2 separate regions of the Homo sapiens genome follow, and region 1 is linked to region 2. The links are contacts of gene promoters, found by promoter capture Hi-C in blood cells and fetal thymus (Javierre and others, 2016). All regions are on one chromosome and are shown on one strand. Each heading gives the region's core, a stretch centred on a gene start or on the middle of the fragment in contact. The rest is flanking DNA. Distances are from core to core; before and after follow the strand shown. Region 1 overlaps HCN2 (hyperpolarization activated cyclic nucleotide gated potassium and sodium channel 2). Region 2 holds the start of MISP (mitotic spindle positioning).

Region 1 (6,235 bases), core at 3,150-5,649, 150 kb before region 2:
TGCTGTGGAGGGTGTTTTGGGGCAGCCCACAGCAAGCGAAGGGGCCTCTACGTTTGCAGCTGACTCAGGAGCCTGGCCCCAACTGGCTTCGGGCCCAAGGCCTCCTGTGCCTGGCTGGGTGTCTTGGGTCCTCGCTGGGCCCCTCTGCCTCAGTTTCCCCAATTGCACGGTGGGGATGGTATGAGGGAGAAGGATGGGGTCTTTCACAGCCTTGCCAGTGTCTCAGCCTCACGTCTCACACTCTCTTCACCTCCCCTTCCTGCTGAGAGAGTGCTGTGCTCCTTGCCCAGCCTGTGCCCCCCAGGCACGCCCTCACCCCGGTTCTTCCTCGCTGCCCAGCTGTCTCCGCCACGCCCAAGTCCACCCTGCTCCCGTGCTCGGAAGTGGCCTCTTTCACGCCCCACGTCCCAGTCCCAGTATACAGCAGGTGCCACATATTTGCTGAATTTTCTGAGGGGCAGAGCATGGGTCCTGGGCTGACGTGGGTCCAGATTTCGGCTCTCAGGCCTGGGCGGCTGGCCCCTTTGGAAGTGCAGTTGGTGCCAGGGTGCAGCGGCTCACGCCTGAGATCCCAGCACTTTGGGAGGCTGAGGCGGGCGGATCACCTGAGGTCAGGAGTTCGAGAGCAGCCTGGCCAACATGGTGAGATGATCCCGTCTCTACTAAAAATGCAAAAATTAGCTGGGCATCGTGACGAGCGCCTGTAATCCCAGCTACTCGGGAGGCTGAGGCAGGAGAATCACTTGAATCCAGGAGGCAGAGGTTGCAGTGAGCCGAGATCGCGCTGCTGCACTCCAGCCTGGCTGACAGAGTGGGACTTGGTCTCAAAAAAAAAGAAAAGGAAGAAGAAGTGCAGTTGGTCTATTGCTGAAGTCTCTGGGGCTGTGGGTGGCTCTACACCCCGGCCTGACGTCTGAAAGTCCCCAGAGGCATGCTGGGCGCTTCCCTGGGGTGCTGGTGGAAGAGCAAGTTCAAGGACCCAAGTTCAAGGTTTTGGGTTCCAGAGGCTCAAGTTCCCTTCCTTGTAGGTGATCACGGTTGGTGCCTGAATTGGAACAGGCGTGAAAACCAAGAAGGAAGGGGTTTGGCCTTATGCAACCCCCAGGGCTTCGGCAGGGTCTTCTGTGCCTCCCAGAGCAAAATTAGGTCAAAAATAAGTATAGTTCATTCCTACTCCCTTCACCCCAGCCGCCGCTGATTCTAAAGGCCACACAGGTCCACTTGGGAAAGCCTGAGTCGTGCAAAGGAGGGTGTCTCCGCAGGAGAGGGGCAGGGGCTGGAGGTCTCTGCACGAGAAGGGCTGGGGCTGGAGGGTGTCTCCGCAGGAGAGGGGCTGGGGCTGGAGGGGACACGAAGGCCCAGGGAGGGGCGGTCTGAGGAGGTCGCGTTCTCCGAAGCTTGCTGTCATCCACCCTCCCTGCCCCCGGTGTCACCGAGGGGGCTGGGCAGACCTGGCGGGGTGGAGACCTGGGCAGATCCGGGGTTTGTGCCCTGGGAGCTCTGGGGGGCACAGGGCAGGTGTCGGGTGGAGAGAGGCTGGCGGCTTCCTGACTGCCCTCGGTCCAGTTCCAGGGCTAAGTGCCCTGTGGCCGCCCTGCCGTCTCCTGCTGCTGCTGACTTGCAGGTCTGTGTTTCTGAATTGTCTTCAGCTGGGGAGGCCCCGTGTGAGGGGAGACAGACGAGATGCTCCCCAAAGCCAGGATCTGTTATGTCCCCTGGGGTCCCCGAGAGGACTGGTCGGGGAGGAGCTGCTCCAAGACCCCACCAGGACAGGCGGCCCCTGGGCCCCGCCTCAGATGGCTGAGTGGGTCAGCGGGAGATCAGCCTGGGGGTGCAGCTCTGCAAATCCGCAGTGATGAATCCCAGCATTAGGGCGTGGGAATAAACCCCCCATTATCCTGGGGGGATGGCCCCGGGGGCAGGGCGAGGCGAGGGTTTGTCTGGCTCTGGTCACGGCAGGAAGGCCCAGCGTGTGCAGGATGGTGGGGTGTGCATGGACCCATATCCCAGGTGGCGGTGGCCTGCCCTCTGGTCTGCGTGGAGGGGTCAGGGGTCGGGGTGGCCAAGGCCTCCCCGCTCTCTTCAGGGCCTTCCCTATGTTCCCTGCTCGAAAACGGACATCTTTGTCCAGGCACTGTGGCTCATGCCTGTAATGCCAGTACTTTGGGAGGCGGAGGCGGGAGGATCGCTTGAGCCCAGGAGTTCGAGACCAGCCTGGGCAACATAGCAAGACCCCCATCTCTACAAAAAGTTAAAAAATTAGCCAGGCGTGGTGGCGTGCACCTGTAGTCCCAGCTACTCTGGAGGCTGAGGCGGGAGGATCACCTGAGCCCAGGAGGTTGAGGCTGCAGTGAGCTATGATCGTGCCACTGCACTCCGGCCCGGGAAACAGAGTGAGACCCTGTCTCAAAAAAATAAAAAAAACCTAAAAACCCACATATTCAAGTCACCTTCATCAGCCCCCCACTCACTTGGGCCGGGCCCTGCCTCACCCCCCACCCCACGGTTCAGCCTCGCACCCTGTGCGCTGGCCGCCTCTCTCCTGCCAGATGCCTCCCCGTCCCCCTTTCTGGCCTCCCGGCTGTCAGCATGGGCCTCTCCAGACATCGGTCCTTCTTTCCCTGTCACCTCTACCTCCTCCCTGGCTCCAGCCCTCCCCAGTCATGTCCCCTGGTCCCGAGGCCGCCCACCGGCCTTGAAGGGAACCCGGAGCATCAACCTCCGCACCTGCTGCCCCTCTTCAGCCACTGCCCTCCCCTCACCATCTCATCCACCCACACGCCACCTCCTCCAAGGAGCCCTCCCACCTGCCTGGGGCTGACAGGCCCATCCCATGTGTCTGTCTTGGGGCTGGGCCTGTGTGGTCATCGTGTGCCCCGGCGCCCGGCGAGAGTTCGGTGAACATCTGCCCCGTCGGGATCACCCGGGAACCCGAGATCTCCCCCACCCGTAGCAGCTCCCTTTCTTAATCCTGGGCACCTGCCACGGATCTGGCCATGACTCCACAGCTGAGAGTGCCGTCTCCTAATCCCCCGGCCCGAGGCTCTCCCTTAATCACCGACCTCCGGCCCCTAATCCTCTCCCGGATTGTCCCCATCTGTAAATCCTGGACGGCCTCCGGCCTGAGGCTGGGCTCCTGCGGGGAGGGCCTGGCTGCCCTCGCCCGTTCCCCAACCCGGGACTCAGGCTCCAGCAGGGGCTGAAGACCCCCTGGGCAGGCCCTCCCCTGGGATCCAAGGGGCTGAGGGTCCTGGGCCTTCTGTTGCCAGGAGACCTGGTGTCCTCGTGGGGTTTGGGAGCCGGGTCGGCGGCCTCCTCCCCCAAGCTTCATCCAGCCCTGGAGAGACGGGGACCTGCGTCGGCTTTGGGAACTTCAGGGGAAGAACCCTGAGCTCGGGGCAGGAGAATGACATGGTCTGTCTGGGTTCCCATCCCACTGTTTCACTTATGGCTGGAGGAGCCTCAGTTTCCGTGTCAGAGCCGAGAGAGAGGCTGGGCGGCTGTTGGAGGAGGGCTGAGCTCACATCGGTGTCAGGTGCCGGGGGCCCCACTGAAGCCACTCTGGAGTGAGAGGGGGTCCGAGGCTTCTTCCGGTCCCCCAGGTGTGAGAGCTGAGGCCGGAAGGTTTCCCCAGGGACCCAGCCTCATCCCGGCCTCCGGAGCTGGTCTCCCTCCCTGCCTGCGAGGGCCAAGCTGGACAAAGTGGCAGGACCCCCGCGTTTCCGAGGAAGGGGCCCTCGTAGAGGCCTCACTGTTACCTGTCGGGGATGGGTTTTAAATACAGGATTTAATGATGGTCACTGATGTTTCTGTGACAGCTGAGGGGGGCCTGTCCCTGCTCAGCACTGGGGTTGGACAAGGAGGGCACAGGGTGCCCGGGGAGTGCTGGGGCCCGCCTGGGTCCCTATGGTGGCCGGATGGGGAAAGGGCTGCCGGACGCGGCTGCACAGAGTGTGAGGGGGAGTGGGGTTGGGCTTTGGGCCTTCCCCTGACCCCAGGTCCCCTCTCTGGGGTCCTGTCTTCTGGAGCTGCCTCCCCCTCCCCAGGGCGAGAGGCAGGAGAGGGTCTCCCAAGGTCACTCAGTCTAGTGTTGGGCAAGGAGAGGGTTGGGGTGGAGAGGGTTGGGGTGCACCGGCAGAGACAGTGACGCCCTGCAGGGCTCTGGGGTCCCCTCTGCCCCAGGCCTCGGTTTCCCCTTGGTAGGGGACATGCGTGGGCGCCCTTCTTCCTTCTGACCTCTGGCTGGTGACGACGAGGGTTGCGGCCCCAAGCCCTGCTTGGAGGCATTGTGGTTGGAACGGGCAGGCCCAGCCCCACAAGGGACCCTCAGGGTGGCCACCCCACCTGTCCCTTCTCCTAGGCCCCTCTGCTCTGACCCCCGTAATCCCCAGGAATACTGCCCTGCTGGGCAAGATGGGCTGAGGAGTCCTTTCTGGGGACACAGGAGCAGAAGGCTCAAGGGAGGTGGTTTCCAGACAGTGTGGGCCGTGGATAAGAGGACAGTCCTGGGGTCTCATCCTGCAGTCCCACTTCCATCAGAGGGGAGGTGTGGTACCTGCCCCCAGCTCACCCCAAGAATAAAGGGGGAGAATGTCTGTTAATCATCACCTGGAAAGGAGGCCTTCATGTTATATGGCCGTTTAAAACCAGGTACCCCTTGGCGGTTTCTAGGTCCTCCTGGTGGTTTCTAGGTCTCCTTGGCGGTTTCTAGGTCCCCCTTGACAGTTTCTAGGTCTCCTTGGTGGTTTCTAGGTCTTCCTGGTGGTTTGTAGATCTCCTTGGCGGTTTCTAGGTCCTCCTGGTGGTTTCTAGGTCCCCCTTGGTGGTTTCTAGGTCCTCCTCGTGGTTTCTAGGTCTCCTTGGCGGTTTCTAGGTCCCCCTTGACAGTTTCTAGGTCTCCTTGGTGGTTTCTAGGTCTTCCTGGTGGTTTCTAGGTCCTCCTGGTGGTTTCTAGGTCCTCCTGGTGGTTTCTAGGTCCCCCTTGGTGGTTTCTAGGCCCTCCTGGTGGTTTCTAGGTCTCCTTGGCAGTTTCTAGGTCCTCCTGGTGGTTTCTAGGTCTCCTTGGCGGTTTCTAGGTCTCCTTGGCAGTTTCTAGGTCCCCCTTGGTGGTCTCTGGAGCCCCCTGGGAGTTTCTCCTCGCCCCTCGTGGGGGAGGTTTCTAGGCCCTGTGGCCTTCTCAACTGCTCTTTCCTGCTGGTTTTGTCCCAAGACTGGTGCTCGAAGGTGGGAGGCAGGTCTCAATCCAGAGGGTGAGGCTGGGGCTGAGCTCCACGGTGAGCCCCCTCGGGGCTGAGGGGCAGGGGGCCAGCGGCAGGCGGGTGGCATCCCCTCAGCCCACTCGGTGCTGGGGCCCTGGGGGTCTCGTTGCTGAGCAGATGTGTCGGACTGGGGGCCTGAGCCCTCATGTCCTGTCTAGACTCAGGGAAAGGAAGGCCTTAAATTTCTAGTCCTTTTAGTCATTTGATTTCACCCTTCAAGCTTGTGAGGGGACCCCTCCCCACCCCGAGATCAAGTCAGCCTTTTTTTTTTTTGAGACAGAGTCTCACTCTGTCACCCAGGCTGGAGTGCAATGGTGCAGTTTTGGCTCACTGCAGCCTCGACTTCATGGGCTCGAGCAATCCTCCTACCTCAGCCTCCCAAGTAGCTGGGTCCACAGGTGCGCACCACCACGCTGGCTAATTTTTGTATTTTTTGTAGAGACGGGATCTCACTATCTTGCCCAGGCTGGTCCTGAACTCCTGAGCTTCTGTGATCCTTTAGTCTTGGCCTCCCAAGGTGCTGGCATTAGAAGCATGAGCCCCTGCACCCACCCTTCCCTTCTTTTTTGAGACGGAGTCTCGCTCTGTCGCCCAGGCTGGAGTGCGATGGCGCGATCTCGGCTCACTGCAAGCTCCGCCTCCCGGGTTCATGCCGTTCTCCTGCCTCAGCCTCCCGAGTAGCTGGGCCTACAGGCGCCCGCCACCTCACACAAAAAAATAATACATTTTTGTATTTTTAGTAGAGACGGGGTTTCACCGTGTTGGCCAGGATGGTCTCGATCTCTTGACCTTGTAATCTGCCCGCCTCAGCCTCCTTAAGCCCTGGAATTACAGGCGTGAGCCACCGTGCCCAGCCTGAGTCAGCCCTTCTCTAGGTTTTATCCCCAGCCTGGGTGGTTCTTGGGGGGTGTCCCGAAGGCTCAGCCCCTCCCCATCCCGAGGCGGTGGATGCTTGGAAGAAGAGACTGAGGTTCTCA
Region 2 (5,889 bases), core at 1,049-3,548:
TCCTCTGGGCCTCAGTTTTCCCATCTGTAAAATAAGCCTTCGTGGCCGGGCACGGTGTTTCACACCTGCAATCCTAGTACTTTGGGAGGCCGAGGTGGGCGGATCACAAGGTCAAGAGATCGATACCATCCTGGCCAACATACTGAAACCCTGTCTCTACTAAAAATACAAAAACTTAGCCGGGCGTGGTGGCTCACGCCTGTAATCCTAGCTATTCAGGAGGCTGAGGCAGGAGAATCGCTTGAACCTGGGAGGCGGAGGCTGCAGTGAGCTGAGATCGTGCCACTGCACTCCAACCTGGGCGACAGAGCGAGACTCTGTCTCAAATAAAATAAAATAGGCCTTCGGAGCCCTGAGTGGGAGGCCAGCCTCAGCCTGGGCGTGGGACGTCTCCACAGTGCCCCCAGCTCATGGGCGATCCAGCCTCCACCCTGCTGGGGCCTCAGTTTTCCCCGATGAGGTGGTGAGTGTGGTGGAGAGCACTGCTGAGGGAACTCAGGTTCCAATTCCAGCCTAAACCCCCGCCATTCCTGAGGCGCGATTTTAAGCTTTCCGTACCTCCGTTTCCCTATCTACAAGCCAGGGAGAAAAGGACGTGAAGGGGGTGGCGGGAGGCGGCGGTGGGAGGCGCCGTGAGGCCGCGCACCCTGAGCTTTCACACACCCAGCAGCGTTAGGTGCCACGCTGTCCTTTGGGGGCCCTTTATCCAGATTTGTCCTTAAACACCCCCATCTTGGCCAGGCGCCGTGGCTCGCGCCTGTAATCCCAGCACTTTGGGAGGCTGAGGCGGGGGCATCACCTGAGGTCAGGAGTTCGAGACCAGCCTGGCTAACGTGGCAAAACCCTGTCTCTACTAAAAATACAAAAATAGCTGGGCGTGGTGGCTCATGCCAGTAATCCCAGCTACTAGGGAAGCTGAGGCAGGAGAATTGCTTGAACAGGGGAGGTTGCCGTGAGCCGAGATCGTGCCACTGCACTCCAGCCTGGGTGACAAGAGCGAGACTCCGTCTCAAAAAAAAAACACAAAAAAAGCACCCCCCTCCTGAGCAGCCCTGCTGGATTCGTAGCTGGGGGCCTTTTTACTCGAAGAAGAGACTGAGGTTCAGAGGGGCTCCACAAGCAGCCCCTCTGGCGTAGGTCAGGACAGAGCCCCAGCCTGGGGAACTGAAGTCCCTGCCCCCTCAGCTGTGTTCCCTGCCCTCATAGACGGCGCTAGGCCCAGTGGCCCGACTTCCCCACAGATGCTGGGCTCCCCACAGTCCCAGCAAGGCCTCTGCACCTTGACTAAGAATCCAGGAGGACCATGGGCGCCTGAGGGCCTCTGCGTCCCCATCTCTCGGGGTGGCCTGGGTCTTTTGACGGCCTCGTGCGGTTCTTTTTTTTTTTTTTTTTTTTTTTTTTTTGAGTTGGAGTTTTGCTCTTGTCGCCCAGGCTGGAGTGCAGTGGTGTGATCTCGGCTCACTGCAACCTCCAACTCCTGGGTTCAAGTGATTCTTCTGCCTCAGCCTCCCAAGTAGCTGGGATTATAATAGCGTGCCACCATACCCCGCTAAATTTTGTATTTTTAGTAGAGACGGGGTTTCGCCATGTTGGCCAGGCTGGTCTCGAACTCCTGGCCTCAAGTGATCCGCCCGCCTCGGCCTCCCAAAGTGCTGGGATTACAGGTGTGAGCCACCAAGTCCGGCCCCCTCGTATGGGTTTTTATGTGGATGGGGCCTAGGGAATTCCTCCCAGCAGCCCTGAGGGAGCCCGGGCGTGATGTTCCCCCACGTCCCGGAGGAGAAAACAGGGCTAAGAGAGGTCAGGTGGGATCAGAACCCAGGCCACACCAAACCCCCCCGAGTCTGCCAAACCTGGTTTATGCAAGAAGGGGGCCATCTAGGGGAGTTGCCCCAAGGGGTGGGCTGGGCCAGAAGGCACGGACGGGATTGGGACTCAGCCCCTCCGGCCCCCCAGGAGACACAGGCCACTGTGCACGCTGAGCTGCTGTGTGGCCCTGGACACCTGCTGACCCTCTCTGAGCGGTGCTGAGAGGCGGTGGGAGGGCCAGGCAGCCAAGGGAGGTTTCGGCTGAGTTCTGGCTCCTCGGGGCCACCTGGAGGCCCTGGGGGTGGAGGGGCAGCCGGCAGCGGGCACGGTGCCCGCCCTTGCCCAGCCTGGTATCCTCTTTCTCCCTCCTCCTCCTCTGGACTTTGTTTCCTGATCCCAGGTGGGGCTGGGGGGAGGGGGCACACCTGCCTCCCCTGGGTGGGGCCTCTGTTCCCTGGCAACCTGGCGGGCAGGGCGGAGCTGGGAGGCCTCTGTGCCCATCGAGGAGTCAGAGTGGAGGCTGCAGACTGTGGAGCCGGGAGCCGGCAGGTGAGGCTGGGGGCGCCCCGGGCCGGGCCGGGCGGGGATCCTGTGTGGGGCGGTTGGATCCACATTTGGCGTGGGAGCGTCATGTGTCTGTGGGCGGGGTCTGCTTGCCTGGCGGCACTTGGGATCCAGGGAGGCCCCCTGCCCCACCCCGTCACCCTCGGAGCCTCCCTGAGGCACCTTTCCCTCTGCCCCCGCTAGGTACTCTGGGGCCTCAAGGGCACCCACTGGGAGAGCAGAGAGGCCCTTGTCCCTGAACTCTGCTGGGGCTTTTGAACCCCAAATCCCAGAGCCCTCCAAGGGAGGGGCCGGGTTGGCACCCCCATGGTCAGAGGCCAGAGGGGCCCCTCCATGGTTCTGGGAATTCCAGAGGCTTCTGGAGAGATGCTTATCCGTCCCACCAGGCCCCTGACTGGGAGGCTCTGGGCAGTAAACACCCCCGTGGGGCTGGGGGCTGGTTTGGGGACACGGAGGAGGGGTGGCTGAGTACAGGCGGAAGGAGTCTCAGGCCGGGGCTGGGGACTTGGCCTGGGTCCTCGGGTGGGGGTGAGGTGGTAGCCTGGGATCCCGGGCAGCCAGCAGGGACTCGGCCCAGCGTCTGCCGGTGGAGCTCCGCCCAGGAGCCCAAGGAGCTGAGATGACTCAAGGGTGACTGCAACCCTGAGGGATGGGAAAAAGGAACGGGGCCCTCCCTTCTGCATGGCCTCCTTGTCTGAGTCTCGGCCCCACAAGGGAACCTTTGCCCCTCACATAGAGCCAACTGGCTGATGAGGAAGGAGGTGTGGCACCAGGGTCCATAAACCCAGTTTCATTCTGGTATCAACAGAGTTCAGGGTGAGGCTGGGAGGAGCAACCCAGGGGGCTTCCTGTAGGAGGGGGTGATTTGGAGCAAAGTCTGAAAACTGGCTTCAGACACTTGCTCTGTCATCGCTGTGTGACCTCAGATGAGCAGGTTCTCCTCTCTGGGTCCCAGCTCCCTCTCTCGAAAACCGGAGTCGAAAACGGTTCCAAGGTGTTGCAGGAAGAGTCTCAGGACGCCGAGGTCCTTAGCCACCGCCGGGCCTTGCAGGGGCCATCTTCCGTCCTGGGGCTCTTCCCCCGAGGGCAGCGCCGCTGCCCAAGAATGCCGGCCATGAGAGCCGCCGTGGATCCAGGGGTTTTTTTGGCCGACACAGTGAAACCCCATCTCTACTAAAAATACAAAACTTAGCCGGGCGTGGTGGCGGGCGCCTGTAGTCCCAGCTACTTGGGAGGCTGAGGCAGGAGAATGGTGTGAATCCGGGAGGCAGAGGTTGCAGTGAATGGAGATCGCGCCACTGCACTCCAGCCTGGGCGACAGAGGGAGACTCTATCTCAAAAAAAAAAGCGGGGGGCGGGGGTGGGCACTGAGGCACAGGCAGCAGGGGAGGGGGCCCAGTGGCCTTGAACCCAAGAGCTGGACCCCAGGCCCCACCCGCTGGCTTCAGTGAATCACTGGGGAGGAATGAGCAGAGGAGGATGCGTGCCTTCATCCCCACCCAACCCCGACCCCACTGGGAGACCCGGCACCTGCTCGAGGCTGGGCGGACAGCTCCCTTTCTCCCGGAGTTGACGTCTGATGTGGGTTATAAATCCCGCTGTGTAAACGTCTGTCCACTCACTGGGCAAACATTCCTACACCCGCCCTCCCCGGGGAGCTCCAGGGTGCAGGGCGTGGACCTGCCCAGCCCTTCAGGGCCAGAAGGCACGGTGGAGCCGGTCTGCATTCCGCAATGAGCCCGACCCCCACGTCTGAGCAGCTGGGATGAGTGGTGTTTGCCCAGCCAGTATTTATTAGGCGCCTGCTGTATACCAGACTCTGGGCTGCAGGAAGGGTGCTGACCTGTGGCCACAGCAGGCGAGAGCGAGGCCTGGGCTGACGGTTTCGGGTGGGAGAAGGCAAGGCCTTCCGTGAGCTGGGCAGGCGGCGTCCACGGAGGAGGAGGCCTCGGGTCAGGGGAGCCATCTGTGCGTCACGCTTTGGGAGGAAGCTCAGCTGTTTGTGTGGGATTTATTCACCAATGCCGCCTGGTTTTCAATGTTTCCCCTATTTTAGTTTCTGACATTTGATACGCGCGGAAGATTGCATGACACATTGCGTGTAGTTTCAACACGGCTCCCCACGGTCTCTCCACTTTATGCTGTTTGATGCCACTTTCCAGTTCAGAGAGGGGCTAAGTTTTTCTTTTTTTTTCTTTTTTTCTTTTTTTTTTTTTTTGAGGCGGAGTCTAGCTCTGTCACCAGGCTGGAGTGCAATGGTGCGATCTCAGCTCCCTGCAAGCTCCACCTCCCGGGTTCACAGCATTCTCCTGCCTCAGCCTCCTGAGTAGCTGGGACTACAGGCGCCCGCCAGCACACCCGGTTAATTTTTTTTGTATTTTTAGTAGAGATGGGGTTTCACCATTTTAGCCAGGATGGTCTCGATCTCCTGACCTCGTGATCCGCCAAAGTGCTGGGATTACAGGTGTGAGCCACTGTGCCTGGCCGACCCTGTCTGTTTAAAAACAAAAAAAAATGCTGCTGGTTGGTGTAAAGGCAGCAGATCTAAATAATAGCCTTGGTGGCCCGGGAGCGACAGTCCTGCTTTGTGGGGGTTTGTTTTTCTTTTGAGACAGGGTCTTTCTCTGTCACCCAGGCTGGAGTGCAATGGCACAATCTCAGCTCACCGCAACCTCCACCTCACAGGTTCAAGTGATTCTCCCACCTCAGCCTCCCAAGTAGCTGGGATTACAGGCCTGAGCCCCTGTGCCCAGCCGACAGTGCTTTTTTTAGGAGTCAGGAGCTCAAGCTTTTGAGATCCCTGTGTCTTCAGGTGAGGCTTCCTTTCCTCAACTATGAAAGATGATGTCTGCTGGACACGGTGGCTCACGCCTGTAATCCCTGCACTTTGGGAGGCCGAGGCAGGCGGATCACCTGAAGTCAGGAGTTCAAGACCAGCCTGGCCAACATGGTGAAACCCGTCTCTACTAACAATACAAAAATTAGCCGGGTGTCCTGGCTGGGCGCGGTGGCTCACGCCTGTAATCCCAACACTTTGGGAGGCCGAGGCGGGAGGATCACGAGGTCAGGAGATCAAGACCATCCTGGCTAATATGGTGAAACCCCGTCTCTACTAAAAATACAAAAAATTAGCCAGGCGTGGTGGCGGGCGCCCGTAGTCCCAGCTCTAGGGAGGCTGAGGCAGGAGAATGGCGTGAACCTGGGAGGCAGAGCTTGCAGGGAGCCGAGATCGCGCCACTGCACTCCAGCCTGGGCGACAGAGTGAGACTCCGCCTCAAAAAAAAGAAAAAATTAGCCGGGTGTGGGGGCGGGTGCCCGTAGTCCCAGCTACTCAGGAGGCTGAGGCAGGAGAATTGCTTGAACCCGGGAGGTGGAGATTGCAGTGAGCTGAGATCACGCTACCGCAGTCCAGCCTGTGCATCGCAGCGAGACTCTGTCTCAAAACAAAAGACAATACCTAAGACGGGTGCTGGGTACAAGGCCTGACATGAAGGAGGTGTTCAGATGATGGCTCTG

The links. Contacts are between HindIII fragments. The CHiCAGO score rates a contact against its expected background, and 5 or more counts as called.
Region 1: a fragment that was not itself captured here is called in contact with the fragment with the promoter of MISP in region 2 in 1 of 17 cell types (erythroblasts); the score reaches 5.1 in erythroblasts.

The regions. Positions count from the first base shown.
Region 1 is chr19:592,794-599,028 of GRCh38, forward strand. The region is part of intron 1 of HCN2 (hyperpolarization activated cyclic nucleotide gated potassium and sodium channel 2); the gene reads left to right. Among named protein-coding and RNA genes, the nearest start is that of HCN2, 6.0 kb to the left of the region's middle. The HindIII fragment of the contact is 2,153 bases long and covers 3,324-5,476 here.
Region 2 is chr19:748,814-754,702 of GRCh38, forward strand. MISP (mitotic spindle positioning) reads left to right here and starts at 2,299. Exons shown (of 5, transcript NM_173481.4): 1 at 2,299-2,358. The HindIII fragment of the contact is 4,613 bases long and covers 547-5,159 here.